Regions from separate parts of the Homo sapiens genome. Here all the other regions are linked to region 6. The links are contacts of gene promoters, found by promoter capture Hi-C in blood cells and fetal thymus (Javierre and others, 2016). All regions are on one chromosome and are shown on one strand. The core of a region is centred on a gene start or on the middle of the fragment in contact, and the rest is flanking DNA. Distances in the headings are between cores, read along the strand shown.

What was found. Contacts are between HindIII fragments. The CHiCAGO score rates a contact against its expected background, and 5 or more counts as called.
Region 1: a contact is called between the fragment with the promoter of CHRNA10 here and the fragment with the promoter of RRM1 in region 6, in 2 of 17 cell types (neutrophils and total CD8 T cells). The highest score is 6.2, in neutrophils.
Region 2: a fragment that was not itself captured here is called in contact with the fragment with the promoter of RRM1 in region 6 in 14 of 17 cell types (naive CD8 T cells, total CD8 T cells, naive CD4 T cells and 11 more); the score reaches 34.9 in naive CD8 T cells.
Region 3: a fragment that was not itself captured here is called in contact with the fragment with the promoter of RRM1 in region 6 in 10 of 17 cell types (non-activated CD4 T cells, total CD8 T cells, naive CD8 T cells and 7 more); the score reaches 12.0 in non-activated CD4 T cells.
Region 4: a fragment that was not itself captured here is called in contact with the fragment with the promoter of RRM1 in region 6 in 13 of 17 cell types (total CD8 T cells, non-activated CD4 T cells, total B cells and 10 more); the score reaches 16.8 in total CD8 T cells.
Region 5: a contact is called between a fragment that was not itself captured here and the fragment with the promoter of RRM1 in region 6, in 14 of 17 cell types (total CD4 T cells, total CD8 T cells, naive CD4 T cells and 11 more). The highest score is 30.9, in total CD4 T cells.
Region 7: a contact is called between a fragment that was not itself captured here and the fragment with the promoter of RRM1 in region 6, in 13 of 17 cell types (total CD8 T cells, naive B cells, total B cells and 10 more). The highest score is 18.0, in total CD8 T cells.

The regions. Positions count from the first base shown.
Region 1 is chr11:3,669,645-3,672,936 of GRCh38, forward strand. It overlaps CHRNA10 (cholinergic receptor nicotinic alpha 10 subunit), which reads right to left and starts at 1,740. Exons shown (of 5, transcript NM_020402.4): 1 at 1,608-1,740; 2 at 152-297. The coding sequence starts at 1,668. The HindIII fragment of the contact is 7,798 bases long and covers 1-3,292 here.
Region 2 is chr11:3,781,404-3,784,681 of GRCh38, forward strand. NUP98 (nucleoporin 98 and 96 precursor) reads right to left here. Exons shown (of 33, transcript NM_016320.5): 2 at 639-742. The coding sequence starts at 714. It also overlaps the pseudogene RNU7-50P. Among named protein-coding and RNA genes, the nearest start is that of NUP98, 15 kb to the right of the region's middle. The HindIII fragment of the contact is 2,478 bases long and covers 564-3,041 here.
Region 3 is chr11:3,693,370-3,696,714 of GRCh38, forward strand. It overlaps NUP98 (nucleoporin 98 and 96 precursor), which reads right to left. Exons shown (of 33, transcript NM_016320.5): 26 at 2,080-2,237; 27 at 1-6. Among named protein-coding and RNA genes, the nearest start is that of CHRNA10, 24 kb to the left of the region's middle. RefSeq lists a silencer at 3,066-3,286. The HindIII fragment of the contact is 3,083 bases long and covers 416-3,345 here.
Region 4 is chr11:3,735,938-3,739,218 of GRCh38, forward strand. The region is part of intron 12 of NUP98 (nucleoporin 98 and 96 precursor); the gene reads right to left. Among named protein-coding and RNA genes, the nearest start is that of NUP98, 60 kb to the right of the region's middle. RefSeq lists a silencer at 1-129. The HindIII fragment of the contact is 4,702 bases long and covers 1-3,281 here.
Region 5 is chr11:3,759,656-3,763,340 of GRCh38, forward strand. NUP98 (nucleoporin 98 and 96 precursor) reads right to left here. Exons shown (of 33, transcript NM_016320.5): 9 at 3,247-3,384; 10 at 884-971. Among named protein-coding and RNA genes, the nearest start is that of NUP98, 36 kb to the right of the region's middle. The HindIII fragment of the contact is 2,527 bases long and covers 949-3,475 here.
Region 6 is chr11:4,092,924-4,096,593 of GRCh38, forward strand. RRM1 (ribonucleotide reductase catalytic subunit M1) reads left to right here and starts at 1,876. Exons shown (of 19, transcript NM_001033.5): 1 at 1,876-2,108. The coding sequence starts at 2,090. It overlaps STIM1 (stromal interaction molecule 1), which reads left to right. Exons shown (of 13, transcript NM_001382567.1): 13 at 1-285. RefSeq lists enhancers at 1,506-1,575, 1,636-2,105. The HindIII fragment of the contact is 7,950 bases long and covers 1,171-3,670 here.
Region 7 is chr11:3,711,106-3,714,438 of GRCh38, forward strand. NUP98 (nucleoporin 98 and 96 precursor) reads right to left here. Exons shown (of 33, transcript NM_016320.5): 19 at 2,713-2,890; 20 at 1,459-1,623. Among named protein-coding and RNA genes, the nearest start is that of CHRNA10, 41 kb to the left of the region's middle. The HindIII fragment of the contact is 2,688 bases long and covers 356-3,043 here.

The sequences.
Region 1 (3,292 bases), core at 490-2,989, 420 kb before region 6:
TCAGTACCCAACAGTTTGTAACTGCTACCTTTGTTAATATTAACATTTACAGAAAAGAAATTCCATGGAGAATAATCCCAGTCTCTCACCCCTTCATTTCTTGACACTGTGACAGGTAAGACTCCACAGCTGTACCACCACCACAACGCACCATGTCGATGATCTGGGACAGTGTCACCTCCAGGGTCACATTCAGAGTCTGGTCTGTGTCTGCCACAGGTCTCAGGGCACTTGTGTAGTTGGCAAAGAGGTCACGGAACAGCTTGAGAGCCAGCCGGCCCTCAGCTCCCAGGCACTCTGGAGGGTCAGTAAGGAGGGTTGTCCATCCCAGGCCCTAGTCCCAGGGCCTCTGCTCACACCCTCCACTCCCAGGGCTGGGGCCCTGTCCTTATGAGTGTCCTCCTGGTGTCTGCCTTCTCTTGCTCTAGCTGTGGCTCTAGTTCCTCCCTGGCCTGCCTGCAGGGACACATGAGGTAAAGGCCATGGAGTGAACTGGTACTATCTTCTGGCGCCAGGCTGACAAATTTCTCCTCCACCCTCCCCTTTTCAAGGACCTGGAGTCTGCCTGCCTCTCCACAAATGCTAGAGGGGCCCAAATAAGCCACAAGAGTCCAGACTTTCACCCAGGGATTCTAAACCCCACTGCTCTGCCCCCTCCAGTATCTCTCAAACCTGTTTCCACTTCTCCATCTCGAGCTGGTTTCTTCAAAACTTCTGATGCGATGGAACACTCCCTCACTCTGAAAACACACTTCCCCAGGCTTTACTGACACAAATTTTCCTCAATCCCTGACCTAAACATTGTTCCCATGAATCCTGTCCTTGGCTCCCATCTTTTTCTTCATCCCAGATTTTTCTCCTGAGCTCCAGACCCCAATAGAGTACAGTCCACTCCTGAGTTTCCCACAGGCACCTTCAACTCTGAGGGTCCAAAATATGAACTCGCTTCCTCCCTCCATGCTCTGAAACCTGCTTCCTATCCCATGTTCCCTATCTCAGCAAATAGCATGCCCTCAGCTTCAACAGTGACCTTAGTTGGAAATCTGGGAATTATCCCTCCCTTCTCCCTCTGCTGCCTCCTCCTCGGGGAATCCAGTTAATCTCCAGATCCTGTCAGATCATTCAAATCCTCCAGATTTTGCGAAACATCGTCTTGAGTCTACCCTCTCCCCTCCAGGTCAGGGCCCTCCCTTCACTGTCTCCCTTTCCCCAAAGGCTCACCTTCTTCTACCCCTCCCATGCCCCAGGACCACGCTTTTAAGCATGCACATCTGACCAGGCTAGTATGCTGCTGAAACCTTTCAGTGCTCCCCGTCATCTGCAGGAGAAAGACCTGGCCTGGCCGGCAGGCCCTTCAACATCTGGCCCCTCTGATTTTCCCAGCCCTGTCTCTGGAAGCTCCCCGCTCACTGTTTCCACCCTAGCCAGGCAAGTCTCCTCTCACGCACTTCAGCACCCCTCTCCTCCACACTCCCCAAATAGAGAGCTTGTTCTCAGAACAGGTACTGAGGAGAAACACAAGAGAGACTACATGGAAAGGGATTTTGGGAGAACAGGAATAGTAGCACCACCAGGAGAGGCCAGGGCTGGTGTACTGAGCTTCATACCTGCAGGGAGTAGAAACAGAAGCAGAAGGCCCAGGCTGAGGTGGTGGCTCCGGAGCCCCATGGCCCTGGCACTGCAAGAGCGGGGGCAGGTCTCTGGATGTGAGGCCTCCTGGCCAGACCTAGGGCAAAATTAGGCCCAGCTGGCAAGGATGGTGTGGACAGTACCTAGAAGTCAGAAGTAAGACAGATCTCTGGTGGGTCCAGCCACCCTCCAGCGAGCCCTGCAGCCCCTCCAGTCTTCTGACCCTCCAATTTGTGCCTGCCCCTGGATTTTAGTACTTGGTCTTTCTTCTTCTCTGCTGGTCCTTGCCTCTTCTGGCCTCTGCCTCTGCCCTTTCCTATGCTCCCCACCTGCTTTGTCTTTCACTCTGTTTCTGCTTCCTTCTCTTTCCGTCTGTAACTTTCTTGGTCTCTCTGCCTCCCTGACTCTGATCATCCCCTGCCTGCCTCTTTCCACTCTCTCTCCCTTTCTCCTACTTCTGTTTCATCCCTCATTCCTTCCTTCTTCCATTCCCCACACCTGGACTCTAGATGGGCCTGCTGCTCTCTCAGCAGAACAGGGACCAGGGACTCCTCCCTTGATCAGCCCAGAGTCGTCCGAGGCACAGGACCACAGCCCCTCCCTCTCTGCCCTTTCATTAGCTTAATTACACCGTGCCTATGACAACAGAGCAACGGAAACTGATACCTCGGGCCTCTGGGGCTTGAATTATTCAAACTCTGTAAAGCAGCACACAGACTCAGCTCAGGCCCATCCTCGGGTGTTGGAGAGTACAGGTATGCTGGGTCAGGGTATGTGGAAGACCAGGGCTTAAGAGTGTGAGGGGCCAGGGTCAGTGGATGGATAACTGTCCTCTCATCTTAGCCACCATTGCCTGAATTCTGGAGGTGGAGGTTTGCCTTAGACCTGCAGCTCTCCTTGCAGTGCGGGACTAGACACTCCAGGCTAGGCACTTTGGGTCAAGCAAGCCCTTCCCTCCTGGTGGGAGTAGTGCTGAGCCTCAGGCCACTCCAGATGACCCAGTGGAGCAGAAGATGGAGCCCACATCCTCTCCTCAGACTCCCTGCAGTCATTCCCATCTGAGCCTGTTTTTTCACCTTGCCCAAACACTGTGGGCAGTGTGGGAGAAGAGGGCAAGCATTCAGTCACTTTCGGCCCTGTCTTATGAGCGCTCTCACTTGGGTAAGATATTTAAACTCTCTGGGTTTCTGTTCTCTCAATCTGGTAATGGGATTAACAGTACTCATCTTGAAAACTGCAAGGATTTAAATGAGATAACCTGATAGTGCAAGGCACTGTCTAGCACGGTGCCTAAGGTACAGCAGGTCATCAACAATATTTACACTGTGGTCCCAGTAAGGTAGCCAGGCTATCCTCAGGTCACAGGTATTTATCATGCACAGAGTTTTGATTATTTTTGTTCAAGCTGACCAGTTGCCTGACCAACAGCAGCACATACTTCCCTGGCAATCACATCCATAGCCATGACTTTGGGCATCGTGGATATGCCAGTGATTCCCTGCACTTTCTCCACCCGTCCCCTCTCCCAGGTACTCTGCTTATCTCCAACCACCTTCCTAACACACAAGCGTTTCACATCATTTCAAATTGAAATCCAACATTCACTTATTCAAGCTAGTAGAGGGGAACTGTCCTTAACTTGTTAAAGAACAACTACCAAAAT
Region 2 (3,278 bases), core at 553-3,052, 310 kb before region 6:
AGCTCTTTTAGAATTTGTCTAGCAGGGTTTCTGGTTTTCACCAGGAAACAAAATTTTTTTTTTGCAGAGGGGGTGGACTTTCTGGTTTTAAAAAAAAAAAAAAAAAAAAAAAAACCCCTCCACAAAAATTTTTAACAAAAAGTTTAAATGTAAATAAGGATTGCTTCAGGCAATTAGTCATACACGATACTGGGTAGGAAGGGAGGTAGATCTCCGGAGGGTTGATGGGAATTAGACACTTCCACATTTTAACATTTCTGTGACATGAATGTCACATCATGTTCACAGGGTAAATTCCAGGGCAGTTATTTCATAACTGCATTTTAGACTTCAACATTAAGAGAATTATTTTCTGGTCTGAAAATTAGTAACAAATTATAACTTTCTGTCAACCAAAATAATATAAATATTTTAAGTATCTTCTACTGACAATCAGAAGAAGGCCATGAAAACTTAGAATTTATTTCTACTTTCTTAAAAACTGTTAAAGAGATCTTATCCTAATTATTTTTTCAAGACGACTTTGTTATAAATATGAAAGTAAAAATAAAATTCCCACCTAAAGCTTATCAGAGTGGATTTGTTCTTAGTAAGGGAGATTAAGGTTTCTCCCTCTTTTGTCCTTTTTAAAAACTTACTCTGTCCAAATGTTGAAGTTGTGCCAAAGCCACCTGTGCCACCCCCAAAGGGTGTTCCAAATGATTTGTTAAACATCTTCAAAATGAGTCTTTGTTTCAGAAAGCTGGGAAAAAGAAAACATTATCACTCTCTTAAAGACCACAAAATGGAATATAATTGTTTTAGAAAATCTATCATTCCACAAACTTAGGCCTATTCGAACTATAGTATATACTCTCATTCAAAATCCTCAAACTGTATGATAAAATAAACCTTGTAAAATGATCTTTATAATCTACAATGTTCCTGAGCTGAACAGTAAGGTTAAACTTCATAATGTGAGGTTAAACTTCAGATCCCAACATTAACCATCCATTTAAAACAATGTTTTCAATCTTTTTTTTTTTTTAACCTAAGTCCCCTTTTTAATCAATAAATATTTCAGGTCTACAAGGCAAGATGTTTATATGATCCTCATAGGAGGTTATGAATCATATCCATCAAAAATTAAAACACAGTCTGCTAACCCAACCACCTAAAAAGCTAACATTTTTTTTTTTTTTTTTTTTTTGAGACAGAAGGACGTGCAGTGGCTCACTGCAACCTCCTCCTCCTTGGTTCAAGTTATTCTCCTGCCTCAGTCTCAAAGTACCTGGGATTACAAGCGTGTGTCACCATGCCTGTCTAATTATTTGTATTTTTAGGAGAGACAGGGTTTCACCATGTTGGCCAGGCTGGTCTTAAAAAAACTCCTGATCGAGTGATCCACCCACCTGGGTGCTGAGATTACACCACCAAAGTGCTGGGATTACAGGCGCAAACCACCGCACCCGGCCAAGGCTTTATTTTCCATAGTTTGCATTATAAAGTTTCTTTCTCCCCTACCTTCGAGGGATATAAAACATGGTAATAGTAAATGTTTTTCAAATTATGCATGCCCCGCCTTCTATCTCTAAATCCCAGAGATTCTGGTGCCCTGACATTCTCTTTGAGATTACGTTTTAAGACTATTCTCTATGGTCCCCTACTTATCTATCTTCTACTTCTAAGATTACAGAAAAACCTTTGATGAAAATCCCTCACCTCTGGCCAGGCACAGTGGGCTCACACCTCTAATCCTGACAGCTTGGGAGGCTGAAGCGGGCTGATTGCTTGAGCCCAGGAGTTCGAGACCAGCCTGGGCAACATGGTGAAACCCTGTCTACAAAAAATCAAAGTTGGACTGGTGTGGTGACACGGGACTGTAGTCCCAGCTACTCTGTTGGCTGAGGTGGGAGGAGCGCTTGAGCCCAGAAGGTGGAGGTTGCTGTGAGCCATTATCATGCCACTTCCCTCCAGCAAAGGTGATAGGGTGAGACAATGTCTCAAAAACAAATAAAAAAAACTGCTCACCTTGGCTGGGCGCGGTGGCTCACGCCTGTAATCCCAGCACTTTGGGAGGCCAAGGCGGGTGGATCACCTGAGCTCAGGAGTTCAAGACCAGCCTGGTCAACATGGTGAAACCCTGTCTCTACTAAAAATACAAAAATTAGCCAGGCGTGGTGGTGCATGCCTGTAATCTCAGCTATTTGGGAGGCTGAGGCAGGAGAACTGCTTGAACCTGGGAGGCAGAGGTTGCAGTGAGCTGAGATCGCACCATTGTACTCCAGCATGGGTGACAAGAATGAAACTCTGTCTCAAAAACAAAAACAAAAACAAAAACGCTCACCTCACATAAATTATTTTACTCCTGTATCCAAACTATGCACCCGGTCATTTAAGGAACTGAACCAAACTGTTCCAAGAACGCCTACACAGAAAAGTTTGGTTCCCCCTGTCTGAATAAGAATAGCTTCATAGTGAAACACCCAAGAATGATCAATTAAAAAAAAATAAATAAAATAAAAATAAAAAATAGCTTCATAGTTTACTCAGAGCTTTCCCCCTCCACAAATTTTCCTTAAATTTAGATGCCTGCTACCTCTTTTCTGCTAGCAGACAATAAATTAATAAGTAAACTACTTTCAGCATAAAAACTCTGAAAACAGTCAATCATGCTCATCTGGATTCTGTGACAGAGATGATGATTTTTCTATTATAGCCACACAATGTATGTAAAGAGTAGTCTTTTCTTCTAGGAAACTCAGGCCGTGTTCATATAATAGAATTAAATATTGCATTTTGAGGTCTTCCCCAAATTCTAGTATCCCACTAACACTTCCAGTCATTCTAATAACCAAACATTTTGTGCAACACTGAAAAAGATAAGGCTGTCCCTTAAATAAATGCTTTACAGAAATATTCTCTCTCCTGAAATTTCCTAGGAAAAAAAATCAAATACTTAAGTTCTTTATCTCAATATCCAAAAACTGAGTAACTCCTTTGATTAAACAAAGCTCACTAAAACCAGTGGTTCTAGAGGGCCACATCAGAATTAGGTGGCAAGCTTTTCAAAATACAAACTCTGGCTGGTTACACTGGCTCACATCTGTAGATCCCAATGCTTTGGGAAGCTGAGGCAGGATGATCTGCTTAAAGCCAGACAAGCTTGGACAACACAGCAAGACTCTGTCTCTATTAAAAACAAAAAAAAAACAAAAAAAAACAAAAAACATGGTGCACACCTGTACGAAGCTCCAGCTACTAGTGAGGTTGAAGCTAGAGAATCACTTTAGCCCAGG
Region 3 (3,345 bases), core at 707-3,206, 400 kb before region 6:
CCACACCTGTGCGAAACAAAATCATCACCATGGCTATATTCTACCTTGTTATTACCTGTGTGTGCAATAACACTGAAGTGAATATTCACTTATTCAAGGAACATTTTAAATGATTCAGATATAAAATATACAAATATAATAAAATCTCACAGCTAGTGAGAGGGAATATTATTTACTTGTTTTTATTGACCAACTGATTGATCGATTGATACAGAGTTGCACTGTGTGGCCCAGGCTGGTCTTGAATTCCTGGTGTCAAGCAATCCTCCCTCCTCAGCCTCCCAAAGCATTGTGATTACAGGAATCAGACACTGTGCCTGGTCCCAGGATTTAATCAATCAATCAGTACTCAAATGAGATGAGAGCCATTGAGAGCAGAGAGATCTTCTCACTGTCTATGGTTGTCAATGTATAAAGCTTTAAAATGAGCATAAGTGCTGACCAGCTACATTTTTATTTCTGAAAATACTTTAAGATAATAATATAAGAGGTAGGCAGTGATAAGAGAAATGGCTTAAAATAATTATAACCCAACAGCCATAAAATGGAACATAAGTGGCTATAAAAAAGAATAATGCCAGCCAGGCACTGTGGCTCACACCTGTAATCCCAGCACTTTGGGAGGCCGAGGTGGTCGGATTACCTGAGGTCAGGAGTTCCAGACCAGCCTGGCCAACATGGTGAAACCCCGTTTCTATTAAAAATACAAAAAAAAAAAAAGGCCGGGTGCAGTGGATCATGCCTGTAATACCAGCACTTTGGGAGGCCGAGGTGGGTGGATCACCTGAGGTCGGGAGTTTGGGACTGGCCTGGCCAACATGGGGAAACCCGTCTCTACTAAAAATACAAAAATTAGCCAGGCGTGGTGGCAGGCGCCTGTAATCCCAGCTACTTGGGAGGCTGAGGCAGGAGAATCGCCTGATCCTGGGACACAGAGGTTGCAGTGAGCCAAGATTGTGCCACTCACTCCAGCCTGGACAATAAGAGCGAAACTCTATCTCAAAAAACAACAACAACAACAAAAATAACGCTTCATGACATGAAAAAATATTCACATACAGTAGGTTTAAAAAAAAAAAAGCTGCAGGGGGCCGGGCGCGGTGGCTCACGCTTGTAATCCCAGCACTTCAGGAGGCTGAGGCAGGCAGATCATGAGGTCAGGAGACCGAGACCATCCTGGCTAACATGGTGAAACCCTGTCTCTACTTAAAATACAAAAAATTAGCCCAGCGTGGTGGCAGGTGCCTGTAGTCTCAGCTACTCAGGAGGCTGAGGCAGAAGAATGAGGTGAACTTGGGAGGCGGAGCTTGCAGTAAGCCCAGATCGTGCCACTGCACTCCAACCTGGGCAACAGAGCGAGACTCTGTCTCAAGAGAAAAAAAAAAAAAAATGCTGCAGGGCTGATGCAGTGGCTCATGCCTGTAATCTCAACACTTTGGGAGACCTATAGGTGACAGGATCCCTTTAGGCCAGGAGTTCAAGACAAGCCTAGGCAACATACTGAGACCCTATTGCTATAAATTCTTTTTTAAATGAACAAAATATAAATAAAAAAAATCACAGAACTCCTATGTATAATTTATTTCATTTGTATATACAAACATGTAAATAGGAACAACATATATGTGGATGTAGACTTAAAAACTAGCTGTGTATGGTAGCGTGTGCCTGTAGTCCCAGCTACTTGGGAGGCTCAGGTGAGAGGATCACTTGAACTTAGGAGATGGAGGATGCAGTGAGCCAAGATCACCCCACTGTACTCCTGCCTAGGCAACAGAGCCAGACCCTATCTCAAAAAAATTAATTAACTAAACTAGAATATTTCTGTGAAGATAAAATTATTTATATTGTTTACCACTATATGATATGGGATATGATACATTTTAACATTTTAATTTCTATACAACTAGATTTTTAAAAGTGTGCATGCCTGCCTTTATAATTTGAAAATTGTCCAATGTGTAAAACATTTTGTGTAACTGTGCACAATTTACAAAGATCACTCCTTGCCTCAACCTCAAACCAGCTTCAATTTATGAAAAAACCAATGTGAGATATTATGGTAAAAGTAGAAGATACCGGTTTTCCAGCCAACAGAGCAAAGATGCGCAGTCTCTCATCCTGGATGAAGGAGTCTGCTTGGAGCTGATGCCAGTCCACCAACTGCATGGTGAGCAGCTCCCGGACTGACTGGCTACCCACAAACTGAGATAAAAGAAGAGCAAGACGATGATCCCCTATAAGAGAAATGGAAGTTTTTTGGTTATTACTAAGGGTTTATGGACTTCGTCAAACACTTGGGGGCATTATCTTCATTTCTTCCAGCCTTCAGAAGGGAGGATTTAACATTGTTAACTGCTTTCTGCAGTAGTGCCAAAATATTGATCAAAAACTTACCATTTTCTGCTTGGATAGAAAATTTGCAAAGTAGTTTAACCTAAATTACCTATAGACTGAATAGCATATAGACATCAACAACAGATCTACCACTACTTCTGTGATACTAGGCAAGACACCTCAGCTACAAAATGGAGGAAAACAGCCCGGCATGGTGGCTAATGCCTGTAATCCCAGCACTCTGGCAGGCCAAGGGAGGTGGATTACTTGAAGTCACGAGTTCGAGACCAGCCTGACCAACATGGTGAAACCCCGTCCCTACTAAAAATACAAAAATCACCGGGCGTGCTGGTGCACACCTGTAATTCCAGCTACTTGGAAGGCTAAGGCAGGAAAATCACTTGAACCCATGAGTTGGAGGTTGCAGTGAGCCAAGATCGCACCATTGCACTCCAGCCTGGGCAACAAGAGCGAGACTCTATCTTAAACATAAAAAGGAAAAATGGAGGAAAACACTGGGCACGGTGGCTCACACCTGTAATCCCAGTGCTCTGGGAAGCCAAGGCGGGCAAATCACTTGGGGTCAGGAGTTCGAGACCAACCTCGCCAACATGATGAAACTTTGTCTCTACTAAAAATACAAAAATTAGCCTGGCGTGGTGGCACGTGACTGGAGTCCCAGCTACTCAAGAGGCTGAGACACGAGAACCACTTGAACCCAGAAGGCAGAAGTTGCAGTAAACAGAGATTGCACTACTGCACTCCAGCCTGGGTGACAGACCAAGACTCTGTCTTGGTGCAGGGGGGAGGGAAAAAAAAAGGCCGGAGGCAGTGGTTCACGCCTGTAATCCCAGCACTTTGGAAGGCTGAGGCAGGCGGATCACCTGAGGTCAGGAGTTCGAGACCAGCCTGGCCAACATGACGAAACGGCATCTCTACTAAATATACAAAAGTTAGCCGAGTGTGGTGGCACGTTACCTGTAATCCCAGCTACTCAGGAGGCTGAGG
Region 4 (3,281 bases), core at 487-2,986, 360 kb before region 6:
ACACACCCAGGCTGGAGTGTAGTGGCATGATCTTGGCTTGCTGCAACCTCTGCCTCCAGGCTCAAGTGATCCTCTAACCTCAGACTCCCAAGTAGCTGGGACTACAGGGGTGAGTCACCACACCAACAACAGCTAATTTTGTGTGTGTGTGTGTGTGTGTGTTTTGTTTTTTTTTTCAGAGATGGGGTTTCGCCATGTTGCCCAGGCTGGTCTTGAACTCCTGAAATTGAACTATCTGCCCACCTTGGCCTCCCAAAATGCCAGGATTACAGGAGTCAGCCACCATGCCTGGCCTCTATTTTTTAACCTCATAATTTTAATCATGAAAATTTAACTCGAACTAGAAAGAAAATAAATTCCTAAGCATTCACTGCATAGTATATATACAGTCAAGATATGGAAACAACCTACGTGTCCAATATTAAGTTAATAGTTGTAGGCGGGGTGCAGTGGCTCATGCCTGTAATCCCAGCACTGGGAGGTCGTGGCGAGCAGATCACTTGAGGTGAGGAGTTTGAGACCAACCTGGCCAATACAGTGAAACCCCACCTCTACTAAAAATACAAAAAATTAGCTGGGCGTGGGGGCGCACACCTATAACCCCAGCTGGAACCCAGGAAGTGGAGGTTTCAGTGAGCCGAGATCGCGCCACTGCACTCCAGCCTGGGTGAAAGAGCGAGACTCTGCCTCAAACAAACAAACAAAAAAGTTGTAAACATCATGACACATCAACATAGGTTATGTAGTTATTAAAAATAATAATTTGTTTCATTGTGGAAATATGAAATTATCTTTAAGTAAAATTTCCAGAATAAAAATATTATGTACATTAAGGCTACAGAGGAAGGCAGCATACAAACAAAAATGTGGTTTTTTCTTTTCCCCCAAATCCAGGTGTCTTCCTGAAGAAAATGCTTAGGCTATCCTTATAAGTTTATTATTTACATTTATTTAACATTCACATAATATAAACTGAAAGAAAAAAGAAATCACTAAGCCTAATTTTTTCTCAAAGTGTAAGAACATCTGTTATCAATTGCAGAGAATTTAGGGAACAGACATAAGTAACAATGAAGACTATTCATGATCTACCATTGTACCAAGTAAAACATTAAGAAAAAAGCAAAACCACTACAGTATACCCTGACTGAAGAAGAAACCTCTTTGCAAGATAAAATCTCTTTCCAAAAATACTGATCAAAACCCAAAACATAATAAAGTCATTTTACAGACAAAAATACTACCTTTTTCCCTTATAAACATTTACAAATAAAGTTACTGCCAAAATATAATACAATAATCCACAGTAAAGGAGTGACATAAAACTTTCTGAAAAGTCTCACAATGTTGTGGGGAGTGGGTGGAGAACAAAAGCAGTAATAACAAAAAAAAAAAAAAAAAAAAGAGGCTGGGCGTGGTGGCTCATGCCTGTAATCCCAGCACTTTGGGAGGCCGAGGCAGGCGGATCACAAGGTCAGGAGATCGAGACTATCCTGGCTAACATGGTGAAACCCTGTCTCTACTAACAAAATAGAAAAAATTAGCCAGGCATGGTGGTGGGCACCTGTAGTCCCAGCTACTCCGGAGGCTGAGGCAGGAGAATGGCGTGAACCCAGGATACAGAGCTGGCAGTGAGCCAAGGTCGTGCCACTTCACTCTAGCCTAGGCGACAGAGCGAGATTCCGTCTCAAAAACAAACAAACAAACAAAAACAGAACAGGCTGCTATAGCTAAATTAATGAAAAAGAAGAGTCAAAGGTTTCTTAAAATCGATGTATTCAATAAATACTAAAACACCGTACATTCATGTTGATATTTAACTAGACAGGACAAGTTTGCTCAGGATCTCAAACCAAGAGATGTCAATTTTAAGAGCACAGAGTAAATCATCTGTATTCAGAAAGTTCCTAAATCCAATTTAAGAGCAAAAAATAAAGAAAAGTTTTTTTTTTTTTGGTACACAGTACTACAGATTAACAGCATACTGCTATTTTGGGGACTATGCAAGGAGACTCAAGAAAAACTTTAGAGAACTCCAAACCTCACTGGTCATTTTGTTACTGGACAGGCAATTACTCATTTAGAAAACTGACCTGTCTTAGTTGATCCCATCGTTTAACAAGTACAAATCATTCTACCTGGGCGTTCTCAAAAAAAAAAAAAAAAAAAACCAAAGACTTCCTTTCACAAATCCAAACACAAGAAAGTGCATGAGCATGATTTTATATCTGTATGAATAAATATAAACTTTGTGTTAACTGTAGTATTTAAAGACACAGGTAAGAGAGTATCTTGATAGATTAGCAAAAACAAGAAAACAAACAAGCACTAGTTAAGCAACTACTGGTATTACATTCAATCTTGGTCAAAATAATTTGAAAACTTTCCAAAGAACAAATTCCAAAGAAATTTCAAAATAAAAGATTCCAAAAAACTAAATCATAACCAAATGATTAAAGGGATAGGGAAAAGTACAAAAACCAAGTCTTCTGATGAAACACAAGAATCTGATGATACTTTATCCAGAAGAAAGTCAGTGGGTTACCACAAATATACTACAGCAAGGCATGGTGGCTCATGCCAGTAATCCCAGCACTTTGGGAAGCTGAGCAAGCAGATTACTTCAGGTCAGGACTTCAAGAATAGCCTGGCCAAAATGGTGAACCTCTATCTCTACTAAAAAATACAAGAATTAGCCGGGCATGGTGACACATACCTGTAGTCCCAGCTACGCAGGAGGCTGAGACAGGAGAATTGTCTGAACCCAGAGGCAGAGGCTGCAGTGAGCCAAGATGGTGCCACAGCACTCCAGCCTGGGTGACAGAGTAAGACTCCTCTCAAAAAAAAAAAAAAAAAAAAAAGGAAAGAAAGAAAAGAAACCATACATACTAGACTGGTTTTGCTTAGCTTTAGGAAATAAAAGTAGAACCACTGGGTGGAAACTCTATGGAGGAAGGATTTGGTTTCCACACAACCAGAACAGAAGAACAGACTGTACTGCCTGTAAGGAAGCCACCATACCTGAGGTTTTTTTAAGACAAGGCACACTCACATAGTTCTAAAGTACCTTCAACTAAGATTCCGTGGTATAAAGATGTACATTCTAAAAGTAAATACAATTACCTTTAAATGGGCAGTAATGTTAAGGCACACAAATTTAATATTAACTAAATTCTTGTGTCAGGAACTTTGGAAAAAGAGATGGATTATTAAAAACCAGTCAAAAAGCTATACAAGTAAAAATGGCATATTACAATAATTTATGCTACCACCTTCTACTA
Region 5 (3,685 bases), core at 962-3,461, 330 kb before region 6:
CATTTTTCCCAGTAGGTTAAGGTTTTGAAAATTATTGTTCAATCTTTTCTGTATTTTCCAGATTTTCAACAATGAATATACATACTATGAACATGCATTCAAAATTTTTGAAACCGTAAAAAATAAACTACTGAATAATCCCCCAAATCAGAAAGGTTTCAACTTTCTTCTATTATTTTTCTTATTTTATTATTTTTTTTAGAGACCTACTTTCACTATGTTGCCTAGGCTGGAATGCAGTGGCAATTCACAAGTGTGATCATAGCACACTGCAGCCTTGAACTCCTAAGTGATACTCCTGACTCAGCCTCCATAATGGCTGGGACTACAGGTGCTCACCATGATGCCTGGCATATTTTGACTTTCACTAAGAATAACCAGGCCAGGTGCAATGGCTCACACCTGTAATCTCAGCACTTTGGGAGGCTAAGGCGATATAAAGACCCTGTTCTCCACCAAAAAAAAAAAAAAAAACAAAAACAAAACAACACAACAAACCAACAACGACAAAAATAAGAATAACCAATTATCTTCTGTATGCTACCACAGGTTTGAAACCTGGCCTCATACAATGTGTTACTTAACCAAATGTGTTTCCTTTATGGTTTCTCAGCTATTGCTGAAGTAATCCAAAGTAAATGAAAGGCAATTTACATGCCTACTAATTATCTCAAGCCATATCCAGGACTTTAAACCTTTCCCTCTGGTACTTCACATCAAGCTACCGCTTACCTGAGAACTTTTAAATATTTCCAATCATACGAATCAGGAGAATAACGTGTGGTATAGTCAGTGTAACTTTAAGAGAGCCAAACCTGCTTTTTATATGTACCAAAATTAGAAGTGTTTGTATTGGTTCCTAAAGTCAGGGTTGGTTTGTTACCAAAGAGCCCGCCACTGGTTGTACCAAATGAAGGTGCACTGGTTGTGCTGCTTCCAAATGTAGTAAGCTTGTTATTGCCAAACAGGGTCTAAAAAGAATAGAATACAGGAAAATTTAAAATAATATTAAGACACACACCAAACTAAATACAGGTTACCTCAGGTATACTGGGTTGGGTATGGGGTGGGAGAAAGATGTCCTAACATTCATAAAAAAGGTAGAAAAAAGATGAATAAAGGCTATCAAAAAATAATCTGGGCAAGATTAACTTTATAAACACGGAATGCTTCTGGCCTGAAAAGTTAATGGTAACCCCTAAGGATTACGACTGAAACACAATGAATCCAATGAAACCAGATTTCAGTGAGGCAAAGAAAAAAATAACAAGGCCATCAAATATCTTTTTACCTGTTAAGAGAAATGTAGCAAATACTTGCTTTGCCAGAAGAAATCACTACAAGAAAAACTTTGAACATGCTACATGGATGTTCCTTGAAAATGCTATGCTAAGTGAAAGACATCAATCACAAAAGACCACATATTATGATTCCATTTACATGAAGTGTTCAAAATGGTCAAATCCATAGAGAGAAAGTAGGCTTAAGATGATTACAGGAAAATCAGGAGTGACTGCCAATGACTATGGCATTTCTTTTTGGCATAATGAGTATGTTCTAAAATTAAATATGGTGATAGTTGCACACTTTGTTGATATACTAAAAATCACCTAGCTATACACTTTAAAGAGACAAATTGTATGGCATGTGGACTATACATCAATAAATCTGTCACTAGAAAGTACTAGAAGCCGGGCACAGTAGCTCACGCCTGTAATCCCAGCATTCTGAAAGGCCAAGGCGGAAGGATCCTTGAGGCCAGGAGTTACCAGCCTAGCCAACGTGGCAAAATCCCACCTCTACTAAAAAATACAAAAATTAAGGCCAGGAGTGGTGGCTCACGTCTGTAATCCCAGCACTTTCGGAGTCCAAGGCAGGTGGATCACGAGGTCAGGAGTTCGAGACCAGCCTGGCCACCATGGTGAAACCCCATTCTCTACTAAAAATACAAAAATCAGCTGGGCGCAGTGGCGGGCGCCTGTAATCCCAGCTACTCGGGAGGCTGAGGCAGAGAACTGCTTGAACCCGGGAGGCAGAGGTTGCAGTGAGCCGAGATCGCACGCCACTGTACTCCAGCCTGGGCAACAGGCGAGACTCCGTCTCAAAAAAACAAAACAAAACAAAACAAAAAACAAAACAAAAGCCTGGCATGGTGTCACACGCCTGTAATCCCAGCTACTTGGGAGGCTGAGGCACGAGAATCGCTTGAGCCTGGGAGGGAGAGGTTGCAGTGAGCCGAGATCATGCCACTGCAGTACAGCCTGGACAACAGAACGAGACTCGGTTTCAAAAACAACAACAACAACAACAACAACAACAGAAGTACTAGAATGTCTTGAAGCATTATATAATTTTCTCAATTTCTTACCTCAATTATCTGTCCAAAGTTTAAAAAAAGAAAAGAGAAATTTCAATCTCCATGAAAACAGGACCATATGTTTTAGGGACTTTGTGTTCCTTTTTTATTTTTTAAGACAGAGTTTTGCTCTTGTTGCCCAGGCTAGAGTGCAATAGCGCGATCTCGGGTCACTGCAACCTCCACTTCCTGGGTTCAAGTGATTCTCTTGCCTCAGCATCTCAAGTAGCTGGTATTACAGGCACCCACCACCACACCCAGCTAGTGGTTTTTTTTTTTTTTGTATTTTTAGGAGAGACGGGGTTTCACCATGTTGGCCAGATTGGTCTCGAATTCCTGACCTCAGGTGATCCACCCACCTCGGCCTCCCAGAGTGCTGGGATTACAGGCGTGAGCCACCGCGCCTGGCTCTTTTTTAATTTTTTTAACCTACTCACAATAGCAAGTTCAAAGTTTCTTCCATGAGTACCTCAACAATTTCAACAATTTGATCAACCCCAAAAACATTTCATTCCCAAACATCATACCAATTTATCACCTACAAAAGAGGGAAGAACTAGGAGTTAAAAATTATCTGATTCAAATAAAGCAAAAGAATTTCAATTTAGACTCAACAATTTAACCAATGCTATCAGAAGTATGATGCACATAAGCACTGAGGCAAAGAAATTTTAAAAGGGAAAGAATTTACTAATTGAAAACAAACCTGAAGTTAACCTGAAATTTCATTTTATATCAAATAATTTTTTGTTCTCAGAATCAAATCATATTAGGCTGGTGCAATAATACACCCAATAAAAATACCTGCAAAACAGTCAAATCCTTAGAAGAAAATTCCTTTTAACAAATTTACACACATCTTCAAATTACAGTCAACTGCAGAAACCTACCGAACCAACAGCACCAAATCCAGTATTGGTCTGCCCAAAGAGACCTGTTCCTGTTCCAAATGCTGTCCCAGTGCTGGTGTTTGTAGCTGTCCCAAAAAGACCTCCAGGCTGTGAGGCTTGGGTTACTCCAAATAATCCCTGCAAAGAAGTTTATATAGATTAAAAGATATCCTGTAATAGTTTCCGTAACGAATCTCAGAGTAATAAAAAAAAAGTTACCATTTTTTCAAGCTTATATGACAGATATTAGGCTAAATAACTTATATAGATTATTTCCTTCAAAACAACCCTGAAAAGCAGGGAGTATATTTTTCAAAAAGCTCAGAGCATTTTAAAACTTGCCCAAGGTGCCACAGCTCCTGAATGGTAGGAACAGAAGTTCAAACCTATATTTAAGCCCCTGTTCTTCCCAGGATGATGAACTCCAAGGTCTTAGGCG
Region 6 (3,670 bases), core at 626-3,125:
CGGCTGTGTGACCACTTTCCCCCACCCTTCCCACCCTCTAGACAACTCTCTCCCTTACCTGTTTTTGCTATGGCTGTAAAGGTATTTTTCCTCTGCCCCACTCCCTGCCATACCTTTATCCTGGGATCCTATTTTGGGCCTGGGGTGGGTATACCTGGGGCTGGTCTTAGGAGGGTGCTAGGCTGCAGACTGCCTTGTACTCCCTGGACACCCTCAAATGGGGTTTTCTGTGTTATTTCATAAAATTCTTTGAAGTCCAATAAAGCATGTAGGAGATTTTAACCACTGCTGGCTTTGACTCTCATTGTGTTCTCTGTGCTGTGGCATGATGGGATAAAGAGACAATCTTTCCTTTGCCCAGGGAAAATGAAACTTGAATGCACATGCCCAGAAGCTCTGTGGGCAGGGTTACCAGATAAATGCAGGATGACCAGTTAAATGTGAATTTCAGATAAACAGTTTTTAAAGTATAATTTTCTCTCATGCAGTATCTGGGACACATTTTTATTTGCTAAATTGGGAAACCCTATGTCTGGGTAAACTTGACCCTATCTATCCTATAACTTCACTTACGACTTTTAAAAAACATATCTATTTAATTTTTCTTTCTTTTTTTTTGTTTTTTTTGAGACGGCGTCTCACTCTCTTGCCTAGGCTAGGGTGCAATGGCGCGATCTTGGCTCACTGCAACCTCTGCCTCCAGCGTTCAAGCGATTCTTCTGCCTCAGCCTCCTGAGTAGCTGGGATTACAGGCGCGTGCTACCATGCCTGGCTACTTTTTGTATTTTTAGCAGCGGGGGGGTTTCACCACGTTGGTTAGGCTGGTCTCGAACTCCTGACCTCGTGATCTGCCCGCCTTGGCCTCCCATAGTGCTGGGATTACAGGAGTGAAGCACCGCGCTGGCCTACTTTTTCTATTTTTTGTAGAAATGGGGTCTCACTATGTTGCCCAGGCTTATCTCAACACCTGGCCTCACATGATGCTCCCGCCTTAGCCTCCCAAAATGCTGCAATTACAGGCTCACTTACGACTTTCCATGATTTTTGAAATTACTTCACAGGGAGCCTGGGCAGCTTCTGGAGGGCAGTGAGAAACCAACGAAAAGGCTTTAGGGAAAAGATGCCACAGATGAAATTTCATAAAGATCGCTTTGGGTAGCCCAAATCAGAAGCTTCTACACCAGCCTTACATATTACGGTTCTCATCTATTCTTATTCTCCACTCTAAGTCACCAAGTCCATCCTACCTCCACAAGGCAAATACCCTGTCTCTGCCACCATCCACTGAAGAACCCTAAAAGCAAATGGGTACTGACCCTGCCCTGCTTAAAATTCTCTCAGGGCTCTGATTTGCGTCAGGATAAAATCCAAACGCCATCGGCCTTGCGCGGTTTTCTTCCAGTTCCAGAGTGTCAGTCCTCTGGCCGATCTAAAAGCCCTGGGGCTCCAAGCTGCCCACGGCTGTGGAGCCTGGGCTGGAGCCCACAGCGGACGGCAGTGTTAGTATTATTATAATAAATGTCAGAGCAAGAAAAACGTTCCCGCCGGTTAGGTTTTGTTATTTCAAAAATAAATTAACCGCCTTTCCTCCGGCGGAGACGCGCAGGTGAGAGGGCGGCGCCTGACCCAGCGGGCTCTAGGTGCTACGCCAGGGCCCCGAGGGTCCCGAACTCGGCTTGCCCACACAAAACATGGTAGCAGGAGAGCAGCATTTCCGCCGGGCATGTCCATATCCAATGGGGCCCATGGGAGAGGCGTAGTCTTCTGGGTCTTGCCCAGACTCAACATGGCGGCTACACGTCGCCTGTCAGTCTGTGAAGCCTACCCCGGGCGTGGGCCGCAGCGTCGAGTAACGTCATTCGAACCCCGTCGCGCCCCTTTGTGCGTCACGGGTGGCGGGCGCGGGAAGGGGATTTGGATTGTTGCGCCTCTGCTCTGAAGAAAGTGCTGTCTGGCTCCAACTCCAGTTCTTTCCCCTGAGCAGCGCCTGGAACCTAACCCTTCCCACTCTGTCACCTTCTCGATCCCGCCGGCGCTTTAGAGCCGCAGTCCAGTCTTGGATCCTTCAGAGCCTCAGCCACTAGCTGCGATGCATGTGATCAAGCGAGGTGAGGGGGGGACGAGGTGGGCGAGAAGGAAGGTGAGGGGATGCGGGCTGCCGCCGCCGGAGCTGATGCCCAGACCGCCCGCCCGCCTTCGCTGCTTCCCGCCTTTCCCGCATTTCCCGCCGCGGCCTTCCGCCCTGTCAGCCCGCTCGGCCTTCTGTCTTCAGTCAGCCTGCCCCGAACCTCCTTCGGGCCTTCAGGCTGCGCCCCCTCGGCTTTGTCATCCTGCCGCCTTTCAAAAGGATAACACTTACCCCGTATCGAGTAGTGACTGCGTACGCCGAGCACTTGCCAGGCACTATTTTATTCCTCCCTGCAAGCCTCTGAGAGATGATTAGCTTATTACAGATGAGGAAACTGACGCTCAGAGCGAGGTGTCGCCGACTGACCCAAAGTCACCCATAGGTGACAATACGGTTTGATTTGAAAACCGTGGGGTTGGTGAGCTGTCTTAGGCACAGGGTCGGGGGGCAGCTAGGAAAGAAGGAGGGGGCCTCTCTACCCTCCGTAGGCACTTGTCAGTTTACTGATCTCTTTTGTGGGGTGAGGATAGGAGTGTGGCGTGGAAAAAACAGATCCCAGACAGACAGCACCCTCGAGTTCCTTTCCCTTCATGGGAAGAGATGCTGAATCAGAGAAGGGTGGCTGAGACATCTTCTGACAAGATGGGGACTGGGAAGAGTCAGGAACTCGTATTCTTTCTCAACAGTTCTTTTTCATTAGACTTGCCAAGTGCCCGCTTTGTGCCCAGCCCTTTGCTTGGCTTTGTGAGATTGTAGGAGGAGACAGTCCCTGCCTTGGGAACAGGCTTCATCGGGTTGGAAAAACAAGAGCAACATACTTTTAACAACCGCATGAGATACGTATGAACAAGTTTTGAGTTGAACCTACTTGCCTTTGTTAAAGCAATACAATGATTTCAAAATTGTAGGCACTTAGTAAATACTGGTTAATCGACTGGTTGTTTCTATTTTGTCCTCTAGGCTGTGAACATTTCAAAGATGGAGACTTGTTTGAGACAGAGTCTTGCTCTGTCACCCAGGATGGAATGCAGTGGTGTAATCATAGCTTACTGTAACCTTGAAGTCCTGGGCTCAAGCGATGCTCTTGCCTCAGCCTCTCAAGTAGCTGGGACTATAGGCATGCACCACCATGAGTGGCTAATTTTTAAAAATTTCTGGTAGTAAAGGAGTCTTGCTGTGTTTCCCAGTCTGGCCTTGAATTCCTGGCCTCAAACCATCCTCCCTTCCTTGGCTTCCCAAAGTGCTGGGAATACAAGCAAGATGGAGACTTTTCTGTTCACGTTTAGCACAGGACCTGACATGAACAGATTCTTAAAGAATGAATGAAAATAGTTGTATCAAAATGTAGGACACGATGAATGCTGTGAATAAGCAGGTAGTTGATTTGGTTTAACTACAGCCAATGTCCAGATTGGTTTAACTACAGACAAGAGTTGGAAAGGTGGACAGTAGTGGCCTTTCTTGTTTTTGGTATCTTGAGAACATCATTCTGTGAATTTTCCTAGCTCACATTTTAGCTGACCAAAGAGCAAAATAACATAG
Region 7 (3,333 bases), core at 450-2,949, 380 kb before region 6:
GTGTGGTGGTATGCCCTGTAGTCCCAGCTGCTTGGGAGGCTGAGGAATGAGGCTGCTTGAACCTGGGAGGCAGAGGCCACAGAGAGCCGAGACTGCACCAGTGCACTACAGCCTGGGCGACAACTCTTTCTCAAGGAAAAAAAAAGCTACTTGCCCATTTTAAATCCTTACTACCTCTTTTTGCTAGAACCTTGATCTGAAATTTTTGGGTGCTCAATTTTTCAAAGAGCTCTCACAAACACAAGTGTCAATATAGGAGTTTATAGTTATTTTTCTACTATTTCTATTCTGGCAATTAAAGAACCTAGAAACTACTGTCAACATTACAAACATTTTCCTGTCTGTCCATAAATGAAGCTTTTCTTTTTCAGCTGGGCCAACTGGAAAGAGGTTATCTTTAAGATCCTACATATTACTTTTGTTACAGAAAATAAGGCCATCTGACTCTTTCCCTCAGAAATACATATATTTATAATAAATATATATATAAGGTTATAAAAAATTAGGAAAGAAGGAGATGATACAAAGCATATGACAGACAAAATGAATATGGATAACTGGAAAACCAAGTCTATAGCATTTCATTTGTCAATGGAGATTTCTTAGGGGCATTCTAAATGCTACCAAGATTATAAACATAAAAGTCAATATATTTCCAGTTTCCCACATTTATCATACCCTCCCCTCCCCTGTACGCGCAAACATGTATATACACACATTCTCCAGAAATGCCTCCTAAGAGATTATTTAATAAATCATAAAAACCACACATTTCAGCAGCCATAAGAATTATAGCATGGAAAATACCAAAGGTCTAGCTTTCAGCAGCTGAGAGGTAGAGGATGCTTTACAAAGAAATCCCGTATCAATGATACAAGTAATTGCGATAAACAATGTAGGCCCTAATCTCCCCAAGCCAAATAATAATTCATTTACATTCCCAAACTATTTTTCATAAAGATTATGTACTATTAAAATACAAATATCAAGGTTACCCGAAGTATAAGCAAACAACTTTAAAAAAATGGAGATTAAAAACCCTTTCAGAAAGCTAATTTAACTTTTAAAAAACCATGGAGGTAAAGAAAAAGATTAAACTGCACATCAGGTAGTCAATAAAGGCAGAATTTACTGTGCATGAACCCACATGAGCAAATCTTAAGTTAATCACTGAGCAGAGAATTCAGCAAGTCCAAATGAGAGAGAACAAAGGGTTTAAAAATGACAATCTGTAGAGGAATAATCCAAACAGCAAGAGAATTCTTTAAATCTCTCCAGTAAAAAGACAGATGCCTGCAAGACCTCACGCCCTCCCTTGCACTTGTTTCAACGTGATTGCCAATGTTTGTACTCTTCAAAGTTCCAAGGGTCATAAAACAGCTTTGTATTAGCTGAATGACTTGCTTTCAACTTCGGTATCACGGATTCCATTCAAATTCACTGTCCTTTTTTCTCTACCTGAGGTGGAGGTGCAGGTTTGCCATTAAGAGCCATCTGCAAGGGCGTAGTCTGGCTTGCAGGAGGCAAAGGAGCAGTCTTCAACTTCTTTGTACTAGTTTTAGACGGATGCTCCTCCTCCTCTTCATCAGAATCCTGAAGGCCATACTTAGAAAAATGGGAGACCTAAGGAAGAGAAGAACCCCACAAAACAACTTAAACATTATGCTTTCCCAATACCTGCCTTTGCAATCTTGCAGCATTACCTTAAGAAAAAAGAAAGAAAAGGGGAGAAATATCTAAGTATTTAAAGCAAAATATATCACCTATCACACTTTTATCTAAGATTTAGAAGACGTTTGATGTATGCTCTAGTTGCTCATACTAGTAAATTAATAAAGATTACATAATATACATTAAAATGTCATTTAAACTGTAATCATTAATATAGGAAACTTAATCCAAAGACTTGTTATTATTTTCACAGACATATATTGCCTGTTATCCTCTATCTACCCAAGGGCCTTTAACAAGTTAAATAATTCAACCAGCCTAGAATGGGAGGAAATCATTGGATTAAACTATTACGGACAGTCAACCTCTTCATCTCCAAAAATCTTTAAAAGTAAGAATGACAATTACATAGGAAGAGTTGATCCAATAGACACCTGCCTGATGAATTACTGAAGTCCCTAATGATGACAAACATTAGAAAAACTACACCTTAGAAATGTATTTATAAATCCTCATAGGAGTTGGGTAGAGGACTTGAATCACGAGCCCACAGTTTGTAAGAACTCATTACTGCTGAATTTTAACTAGGTTTGTAGTTTGGAGTGAATCATAATGTATCTGTACATCTCTCTCCAAATTTCTAAAAATAAAGAGAATTTGGCTGGGTATAGTGGCTTACACCTGTAATCACAGTACTTTTGGGAGGCCAAGGAGGGAAGACTGCTTGATCCCAGGAGTTGGAGACCAGCCTGGTCAACACTGAGAAACTCGATCTTTACAAACATTTTAAAAAGTAGCCAGGCATGGTAGTGCATGCCTATAATCCCAGCTACTTGGGAGGCGGAGGCAGAAGGATTGCTTGAGCCCAGGAATTTGAGGCTGCAGGGAGCTATGATCCCACCATTGTACTCCAGCCTGAGCAACAGAGCAAGAACCCCATCAATCAATCAATAGAATTTAGCAAAGGATCCCTTCCAACATAAACGTTATGTGACTCCAAATATAGTTTATAAAAGTCTGAACTGGGTTAAATGACTATACCTTAAACACCCAAGAACCAGTTTCAGGCCGGTATTCTTTGAATTGAGCTCCCTGTTTCCTTGAAACTGCTTCCAATCTTCCTTCATAGTTGATATCAGCAAGGCGATCTGGGCTCTTTATTAAACAACGAGATGTTTTATCTGTTGGCCAAACTCCATCCAATGTAACTTCAGCCTTCCTGTAAAACATAACCAATTAAAGTAACCAATTAAAGTAAAAGCGCTTCATATATAAGACCAGAAAGCCACCTAACACATAAATAGTGAATAATGGTAACTATGCTGCCTTGGAATTATTCTGCATGTGTCATAAACTTGAGTTTTGCCCCATAAGCTTAAGAGCAAGGAGTCACTCCTACATTGACAACTCAATATCTGGTTCTAGAGTCAGACTGCATTTATTTAAATTACCATGGTACATCAATTATTTCCAATCTCATTTTCACACTTAAGCTAGGAATCACTAACTTATTTAAGTTACAGTCCAGTGGTACGAACCAAGTCTTATGCAGGTCTTAAAGGGCTACCGTACTAAATAATAATAAAAAACAGCTACTACCCATTTACTAAAAACAAATGCTTAGAAAATGAAGTATCAGGAATATCGGTATGAAGATGACTA